Regions from separate parts of the Homo sapiens genome. Here region 2 is linked to region 1. The links are contacts of gene promoters, found by promoter capture Hi-C in human tissues and cell types (Jung and others, 2019). All regions are on one chromosome and are shown on one strand. The core of a region is centred on a gene start or on the middle of the fragment in contact, and the rest is flanking DNA. Distances in the headings are between cores, read along the strand shown. Region 1 holds the start of TSPAN11 (tetraspanin 11). Region 2 overlaps LOC105369715 (a long non-coding RNA gene).

Region 1 (4,576 bases), core at 870-3,369:
AAGCTAAGTTCAGACAGGTCGCAAGTGCTAGGAAGGAACAATGATGTGATCATGGCTGGGAGGTGGCTACTTTAGATGGGGGATCAGGAAAGGCCTCTCTGAGGAAGCAAAACACAGTTGAAAACAGAATGATAATCTGGAAAGATGCCCTGATTTGGACCAAAGAAGAAGCAGACCCAGAGAGGTGATGTGACCTTCCCCAGGCAGGGAGCTGAGCCGGGACCTGACCTGGGTTGCCGGCATCTCCCATCCAAGGATCTTTCCTTTTACAAACACTACTAAACAGCTATCACATACAAAGAAGTCTCAGTGACAGGTGACATCCGAGGGTGGACAAACCACCCAACTACATCCTGGAATTCGGTGCCGTCTGTGCATGACTTTTGATGCCTCCCTCCTTCTTCAGCCCAGTCCAGCGTTGGCCCTGGGTCTGAAGGCACTGTAACCCAAGAGATAGAACTTGGTGGTGGACACCCCAGGCCTGTGACCTTGGCTGGGAAAGCTTCTTCATCTCCTATCTCCCTGGCTACAAACTGTGAAGGGTGCTCCTTACTGCTTCATTTGGCGGCATAAAAAGAAAAGCAAGTTGGTGGTTATAAATGTCCTGGGCTCATCTGAAGAAAGGCTCTCTGGAAAGTCAAGGTGCTCTAGGCAGACTTAAAGACATCAACGCCAGTTTTCCTCTTGTTCTGCAGCACTCACACAAGAACTATGGGGAATCACACAGGCCTGTACATATTTTACACACGAGTCCAAAGGTGGGTATAAAATTCCTGCTATGCTGAATATAGTGGGAAACAGCACACAAATGCCTCCCTCTGCTACCCACAAACCAAACAGCTCTGGGCCACCTAAGCCCTCGCCAGACCACCAACTTGGCCCCTGTAGGCCAGTAGTGCCCCTTACCCTAGGAGTCTTAACTATCATCAAAGCATTTCCAGGCATTAATTGGAGCCTCCAGTCCCTTGGGAGACAGATGGGGCCAGTGGTTATTAGTCCCATTTTGCACAAAAAGCAACTGAGCCCCAGATGACCTATCTGTCCAGGGAACAATGCTACTGACACAGTGACAACCATTAAGTTCTGATTCAAACCTGTCTCCAGCCTCTAACTGCTGCTTTCCACTGCAATCCAGCTGCCCACAAATTGAACACAGACTATCCACTTTGGCCTAATACCACCCTCATTCTCTTCTTCACGCTCCCCCACACACACCCTATGCCCCAGAGTGCACTTATGAGTTTTTCCAGAAGCTGCCTCTTCTCCTCACCCCCCACCCCCACGCTCACCTCACAATACTTGCCACGAACTGGAGACCTCTGGAACACTTATTCCTCCTGCACACAGCAGCTTAGACTCAAGTTAAGATGCTGTCCCGCCAAGCCCAACTGGGCTGCCTCCCTTTCATACTTTCCACCAATTCACACATGTGCACACTGCACATATGGCTGGTGAAAAGGATACACCCCAGAACCTTCCATGCCTTCTTTCCACACGGAGCCGGCCAACTGCACATGCAGGGATGGGCACGAAAACACAGGTGACAGGGCCTACACAGCCATGTTGTCACAAATACACAGACGTGCCCAGAACATGAGGACATCCCTGCACAGGCAGACAGGCCCTCTGAAAGCAATGTGCACCAGATACAGCATTTTGGTGTAGCCATGAGAGGCAGCTACTCGAATTCAGGGTGGACAAAGAATGACATTTTCAAGAGGAACAGACATGCCCCGGGCACGCTGGACGGCACGAGGCCCTCAGAGGCCCAGAGCTCTCTCCCAAGGCACAAGTGCAGAAAGGCAGACTCATGCGCATAGTTATGGACACCGTGTTGCGTGTCCCATGCAGACACCAATACCTGCTCACATGCCCCGCGAGTGTCCCAGGCATTCCTGCCTCCTCCACTCCTCATCCCCAGCCGGCTTCCCTCTGCCCGCCCGGGGGAAGCTCGGGACAGTCTAGCTCGGGACTGCCGGCGGGGCGGGCAGCGGAGGTGGAGGCGCCTCTCCTGGACCCCCAGCCCCCTCCCGCGGCGCCCCCACTCCTCGGGCGCGCTTCTGCACTTACCCTGCCAGGGGCTCCGGAAGCGGCGAAGGGAGCTGCGCCTAGAGAGACTGAGAGCGGCGGCTCCCGGGGCCGCCCAGCCGCCCACCGCCCGCAGCCAGCGCTCCTCCCTCCCAGCCCGGGAAGGTCAGCGTGTGGGCAGCCCGGCCCGCGCCCCTGCGCCCACTGAGGCTTCCTGCCGGCCCTCTAGTCCCCGCCTGCCCAGCGCTCGGCCGCGACGCCCCGGCGCCGGCTCTCCCAGCCCAGCCGGCAGGACGCGCCCGGGAGCCCCGCACGCGAGCTGCCGGCTCTTTGTTTGGGGGTTTGCCTCTCTGCGATTCAGAGCACGCGGAGGGAATTAAGTCAGAGTCCGAGGCAGCTGTGCGGTTGCCGGGGGGATCCCTAAGGGGGGCGGGGCAAAAGGACGGACTAGTAGGGCGGTGGAGCGGCTTTCAAACTCCCCGCGCTCCGCAGCTCCCCGCTTAGGTCTCCCTGCCCTTTACGTTTGTCGGCCCCTGGGAGAGGTTGGCCTTTGGGGGTTTCCAGGGACCCTAGGGACAAGCCTGTCTGATAAGAGAGAGGTTCTCCATCCCCCTTCCTCACCAGCCCCCATCACTGCCGTGTCCCTCTTAGAGTCCTGTGGAGCATCAGCTTTACATTTCCTGGGCCCCGGGGAGAATCAAGGTCTCTCTAATCTGAAGCAAAAAGGAATAACAGAGAGTAGAGCCCATCTGTTCCTGCTGAGTCCCTGTGAAGGTGCAAAGCTGGCCCTAACGGGACTGGCCCTAACAGTGGGGCATGGATTATCTATTTCCCAAAGTAACAAGGGCCTTGTGCTTATCCAACCGTGTTCTTTTGAAACTTAGCTGCAGTGAGGAAGATTACCCATTTACCAGGTTGCTAGATCAGGGAAGCCACTGGAGGCAGGGGACGCTGACAAAGCCACTGTACCGGGAGCACCAACGTTCTAAATACCCCAGCTGGCTGCTGAGAAGGGCTTCGCGGGGGGCCACACAGGAAGGAGATGATTCCAATAGTCCCGTGAGATGAGGACCTTAACTGGGGGATGAATGCGGAAGCTGCAGCAAAGGAGAGTCTACAGACTGTGTGGTGTAGGAGGAGCACACTGGGGCTGTAACATTGTGGAAGTCTGGAGGAGAACCTGGAGTGATGTGACTGAGTTTAGTGTGGAGCAAGTTGGATTGGAGAAGCAGGCCACCTTCTTCCAGGGGCAGATATCCAGCAAATGCAATTGGAAGGGTGATTCTGGAGTTCATAGGAGAGACTGAGGCAAGGGATGTCAATTTTGGAATCATCTGGAAAGAAGTTGGGCCGACACAAGAGGTGGAGGGAGAGGGTAGAAAAGGTACAGAGAACAGGGCTGAAGACAGAATCTAGGTCTACCGAGAAGGAGCCCATGAAAGGAACGGAAACTATCAGGAGAAACCATAAGGGAAGGTCAGGACTGTGCGGGGTGTCAGGACTCAGGAGAAGAGGGAGGTTCAATGGGGGCCGGGGCCCGGGCTGCAGGGACACCACGGAGGAGGGCGCCCAAGAAAATAGGTTTAGATTTAGAAAGAAGGAGATCTCTGGGCTAGTTCAAGATAACTATTTGAGTGGTGGCTTATATAAACCAGGTTGCCACTCCTTGGGGCGGGGCATCTGTATCTCGGATCCAATTGGTTGATGGGGAGATACAAAGGTTCACCTCTTTGCTTCCATTACGGAGGGCCCTGAAGGGCCACCCCAGCTCCATAGCTTCCCAAGGGATCCGCCGAGGCCTCTGTGGAAAGCAGCACAGTTAAAGTTCATTCTCTGCCGAATCCTGTTTCCCTCACTCTCTCAAGGTGTTGTTCCCAAGAGCACGTCCCAGGAGACCTCCCACATACCATCTCCATCTCTGTGCAGAGTCTGTTTCCTAGAAATCCAACCGGAGGTACAGGGACACTGAGAAAGGGCGCAGGAAACAAAACTTGGCCTCTAACGGAGCAGTTTAAACAGACAGGGATGGTTAGAAAGACTCAGAGAAGGTGGTGTGAAGGAAAGAGCCTGGGGAATGGGGAGCGAAGAGGAAGCTTATTCGTAGTAGAAGATGGATTTTCAAAAGCCGGATGGAAGAGAGAAGAGTGGAGTAGGCCCGAGGAGGGGAGAATGCTGGAAGAGGGTAAGGGTGAGGGGAGGTCAGTATTCACCAAAGTTAATAACATTAAAACAGCAATGAGGAAAGAGAGGGTTGGAAAACGGCCTGGAGTGACTTTCTAGCAGTAGGAGAGGGTGAGTGATGAATGAAGCTCTGGGCTAGGGTAGTCCCTCTCCAGCAGTATCCCCAGTAACATTAAACGTTTACAGTGGAGAACCAATGGAAATATAATATGTAATTAAAAATTTTCCGTGAGCCACGTTTAAAAAAAAAAATCAATATAAAGAAACAGGTGAAAGTAATTGTAATGATATATTTTATTTAACACAGTATATCTAAAATATCATTTCAGCGTGTGTCAATATGAAAAATCAACGATAAGATATTTTA
Region 2 (4,576 bases), core at 656-3,155, 1.0 Mb after region 1:
TCAGGAGATCAAGACCATCCTGGCTAACACGGTGAAACCCCGTCTCTACTAAAAATACAAAAAATTAGCCGGGCGTGGTGGTGGGCGCCTGTTGTCTCAGCTACTCGAGAGGCTGAGGCAGGAGAATGGCATGAACCGGGAGGCGGAGCTTGCAGTGAGCCGAGATCGCGCCACTGCACTCCAGCCTGGGCGACAGAGCGAGACTCAGTCTCAACAACAACAACAAAAAATTGGGAGTACATGTGTAGGTTTATTACAAAAGAATATTCTGTGATGCTGACTTTTGGGGTACTATTGATCCTGTCCACCCAGGTAGTGAGCATAATCCCAACAGGTAGTTTTTCATCCCTTGCTCTCCCTCCCTGCTCCCTCCCTAGTAGTCTCCAGTGTCTACTGTTGCCTTCTTTATGTCCATTAGTACCCAATGTTTAGCTCCCAGTTATAAGTGAGAACATGTGGTATTTGGTTTTCTGTTTCTGTGTTAATTCGCTTAGGATAATGGCCTCAGCTGCCTTTGCCCTCATCTTTGAGATTCCCTTTGCATTTTACTTGTGTTAGATACTTTCTGTTCTGGAGTCTTTGTATTTTGTTTCTTGCTTTACTCCCTTATTTTGGTGGAGTACATCCTTCAGAGGCTTAGTGGAAAACGACGAATGAAAGGTATGTATTCTGAGATCGTTGGTGTTGAAGAATGTCTTTTTATCTACCCTCACACTCAAATGCTATATGGGCTACATAAAACTTCTATATGGGAAATCAATATTTTTTTCCTCTGGAATTCAGAACTCCACTATCTTCTAGTTTCTAGGATTGCTTATTCTTGAGCCTTTATGTGTATATGTGATCTTTAATTTCTCCCCTCTGGAAGCTTTTAGAATCTTCTATTTGTCCTCACAGTTCTGAAAGTTCCTAATAATATAACCTGATATGAGTCTTTTTCATCCATTGTATGAATTTTCAGTAGGCATTTTCATATAGAAGTTCCATCTTCTCCAGTATTGCATATTTTTTTCCAGAATTTTCTGGATTTCTTTCACTTTTCTTCTGCTTATTCTTTCTTTATAGAATTCTTATTACTCTAATGGTAGTCCTCCTGAACAGAAGCTCTACTTTTCTATATTTTTTCTACTATTTTCCATCTCTTAATCTTCATGCTGTTGTCATTTCTGGGAGATTTTCCTCAAATTTATGTTCTAGTCATTATATTGAGTGTTTTATTTTTGCTAGTATATTTTCAATGTCTAAGGTTTTCTTGGTTCTTTTATGATCTCTGTATGTTATCTTCTCTTCTTTTATAGATGCAACGTCTATTTCTATTTCACTGAGGATGTAAATGATATTTTAAGCTTTTTTTCCCTTCTCTTAACTGTCTGTTTCCTCTACGATCCTTCTGTCTGTTTTAGTCAGTGACTTTCATGTTAGAGGCTTCCTTTTCTACTGTCAATTATATCTCACAAGCCTATTTCACTCATTATTAAATATTTCAGCAAATATTTGTTGAGCACCTACTCTGTGCAGTATACTATGGGAGATAAAAAATAGAGAGCCTAATGCCAGTACTAAAGCAGTAGCTGAAGACCCAAGGAAAGATACATGTCAGAAATAAAGCAAGTGGTTTTACAGAAATCCTCAATTGTATCATATATTTGTTTATCAAAGACAAAGAGGAAGGGGGAAAAAAGAGGGAGAAAAAGGAGGAGGAGGAAGAACTTTATGAAAAGAAGGGGAAGGCAATGGGAAGATGTACAATACATTGAAGGGTACAAAGTTGCAGATAAGTAGGATGAATAAGAGTAGTAATCTAAGATACAGCATCAGGACTGTAGTTATAGAATTGTATATTGAAAAGTTGCTGAAAATAGATTTCAGGTGCTCCTACCACAAAAAAGGGAGGGGGTAACTGTGCAAAATGATAGATATGTTAATTCGCTTGACTGTAGTAACCATTTCGCTGTGCGTAAGCACAGATGCTCCTCACCTTAGAATGGGGGCTATGCCCAGACAAACTCATCATACATTGAAAATATTATAAGTCAAAAGTGCATTTTCTACTTATGACATTTTCAATGTATGATGAGTTTATCCAGACCTAGCCCAATTATAAATCAAGGGACATGCTATGTATTGCTTTCAGATCATCCTAAGTCAAAAAATCATAAGCTGAATCATCGTAAGTCAGGGATGCTGCATATATCAAAACATCATGTTGTACACCTTAAATATATACCACAAGTTTTAAAGTTAAACAATAATAAAAAACATTTTTTTAAAGAAGGAAAAGAAAATTTAGTATGGTGATGTATGAAAGTGCCAAATGAGTGATCAAATACATACTACAGTAGTTGAAAGTCATGAGAAATTTGTAGATGACTAGATGATTAGGGCAAGATTAGGGAACAAGCAATGCTTAATGGAGTCTTTGAAGGACAGACAGAAATTAAAGAGAGAGAACAAAAGGAAGAATATTTCAAAACATGGGAAAATACAAGATTAAATATAGATATGGAATATGCATATTTCAGGGTTGTAGATTCCAAGTTTTGGAATCACCTAGCAAGCTTTTAGGTCTTGGATGAGGCCTGAAAATGTGCATTTTAAAAATATACTTCAGGTGCTTATTAGGGAATAAGCCAAAGATGGATTCTTATAAAAGAATAAAACACAGTTGGCTTGGATAAGTTATCTGGGGCTTCTGGACTAAGGTAATCTTTATGCCACATCCAAAAGAATATTGTTGAGTGTTTTTGTTTTTTGTTTTCTCTTAAGGGTGATGACCTCAGGGACTTGAGTGTGTCACAAGGAATGCAATCAGGCAATTCCATGCCAGAACAGCTACAGGGAGATAGACTCTGGAGCCGAGCATCAGAAGACTCCTTTATTAATTTTGGGACAAGCTATTGGCCTGTCCTGGTGTTGGAGTGACATTGGCTGGAAAGAAGCATATAGAAAAAAGACATTTTAAAAATCAAGATGAATGATGGTAGAGAGGACATTGTCAAAGATGCCAAAATTTTAGACTCATTGGGAGCATGATAGAACTGGTGATGGAAATGGGGAGACAGAGCATTTTTTAGATAAAATGTTAAATCTGGGTTTAGGGTGTTCTGAATTTAGGGTGAATCACCCAAACAGAAAAGTTCATTAGACTTAGAGGAAAGTTTGACTTAAAGGAACTGATTTCAAGAGTTGCTGGTGGAGGAGTCATTGGTGATGCTACAGTTAGTCTAAGACTTTCATCAGAGAATGGGAATAAGAGATAACAGGTGCTTCCCAAAATCTTGATTTAGGAAGAACCCATAGTTAATGAAACAGCAGAAAGTTAAGTACACAGTGAGGGACCAGGAGTCAATGAACTAGGCAAACCAGAGATTTGTAATGTCTTAAATTTCCTTTGCTATCCTGCAGAGTTAATAAGCAAGTACCTGAAGTATATTTTTAATCTGCATATTTTCAGCCCTCACCCAAGACTTAAAATCTTCCTTGGTGATTTCAAAGTTTGGAATCTACTACCCTGAAATACAGATATTCCATATCCATATTTAATCTTGTATTTTCCCATGTTCTGAAATGTCCTTCCTTTTGTTCTCTGTCTTTAATTTCTGTTTGTCCTTCAAAGGCACCATTAAGCCTCACTTGTTCCCTAATCTTGCCCTTATCATCTAAGCATCTACAAATTTCTCTTGGTTTTCAACTCCTATAGTATATATTCAATCACTCATTTGGCATTAACATACAATGCTATACTAAGAATTCTTTTCCTTTTCTAAAAAAATATTTTTATTATTGTTTAATTTTAAAACTTGTGGTATATATTTAAAGTGTACAGCTTGATGTTTTGAAAGGAGTACACAGAAATATGTCTCTGAAAGAGTGTCACTGCCTCGTGTTTGTAATGGTGCTGTATTTTTGTATCTTACTGCCTGAGCCATTTTCATTGTGATGTGATTACATCATTCATTATCCTCTAAGAATTGTCACTAGAGGCCGGGCACAGTGGCTCAAGCCTGTAATCCCAACACTTTGGGAGGCCGAGGCGGGTGGATCACGAGGTCAGGAGATCTAGATCATCCTGGCTAACATGGTGAAACCCCGTCCCTACTAAAACTACAAAAAATTAGCCAGGTGTGGTGGCAAGCGCCTGTAGTCCCAGCTACTTGGAAGACTGAGGCAGGAGAATGGCCTGAACCCAGGAGGCGGAGCTTGCAGTGAGGCGAGATCGCGCCATTGCACTCCGGCCTGGGCGACAGAGTGAGACTCCGTCTCAAAAAAAAAAAAAAAATTGTCACTAGATTCTCTTATTTATTCCTCATCCCTCCAAGACACCCCTCAAAACCTGACAGCTATGCAAAGTTAGGATGTGCCTTGCCACCAGCTGCTGGTGGCACTGCTCAGTGAGGATCAGAGCAGGGCATTACAGAAGGTGTGTGCATTGGCAGGCCAGCCACAGGAATTTCCAGATGTGTTATATTTGCAAGCAGTGTGGCTGAATTTATAAACTTATTGGTACCTAAATGCTGTTTTTAAAATTGTTAGGTGCCAACTTTTTAAAAATATGTAATTATTATTTTGATTCTTC

Evidence for each region. Contacts are between HindIII fragments. The study calls those that stand out against the background at their distance.
Region 2: a fragment that was not itself captured here is called in contact with the fragment with the promoter of TSPAN11 in region 1 in 1 of the 25 tissues and cell types used here (dorsolateral prefrontal cortex).

The regions. Positions count from the first base shown.
Region 1 is chr12:30,924,291-30,928,866 of GRCh38, reverse strand. It overlaps TSPAN11 (tetraspanin 11), which reads right to left and starts at 2,119. Exons shown (of 8, transcript NM_001370302.1): 1 at 2,071-2,119. LOC124902911 (a long non-coding RNA gene) reads left to right here and starts at 2,178. Exons shown (of 2, transcript XR_007063264.1): 1 at 2,178-4,576. The HindIII fragment of the contact is 5,500 bases long and covers 1-4,576 here.
Region 2 is chr12:29,902,843-29,907,418 of GRCh38, reverse strand. The region is part of intron 4 of LOC105369715 (a long non-coding RNA gene); the gene reads left to right. Among named protein-coding and RNA genes, the nearest start is that of TMTC1, 120 kb to the right of the region's middle. The HindIII fragment of the contact is 4,307 bases long and covers 1-4,058 here.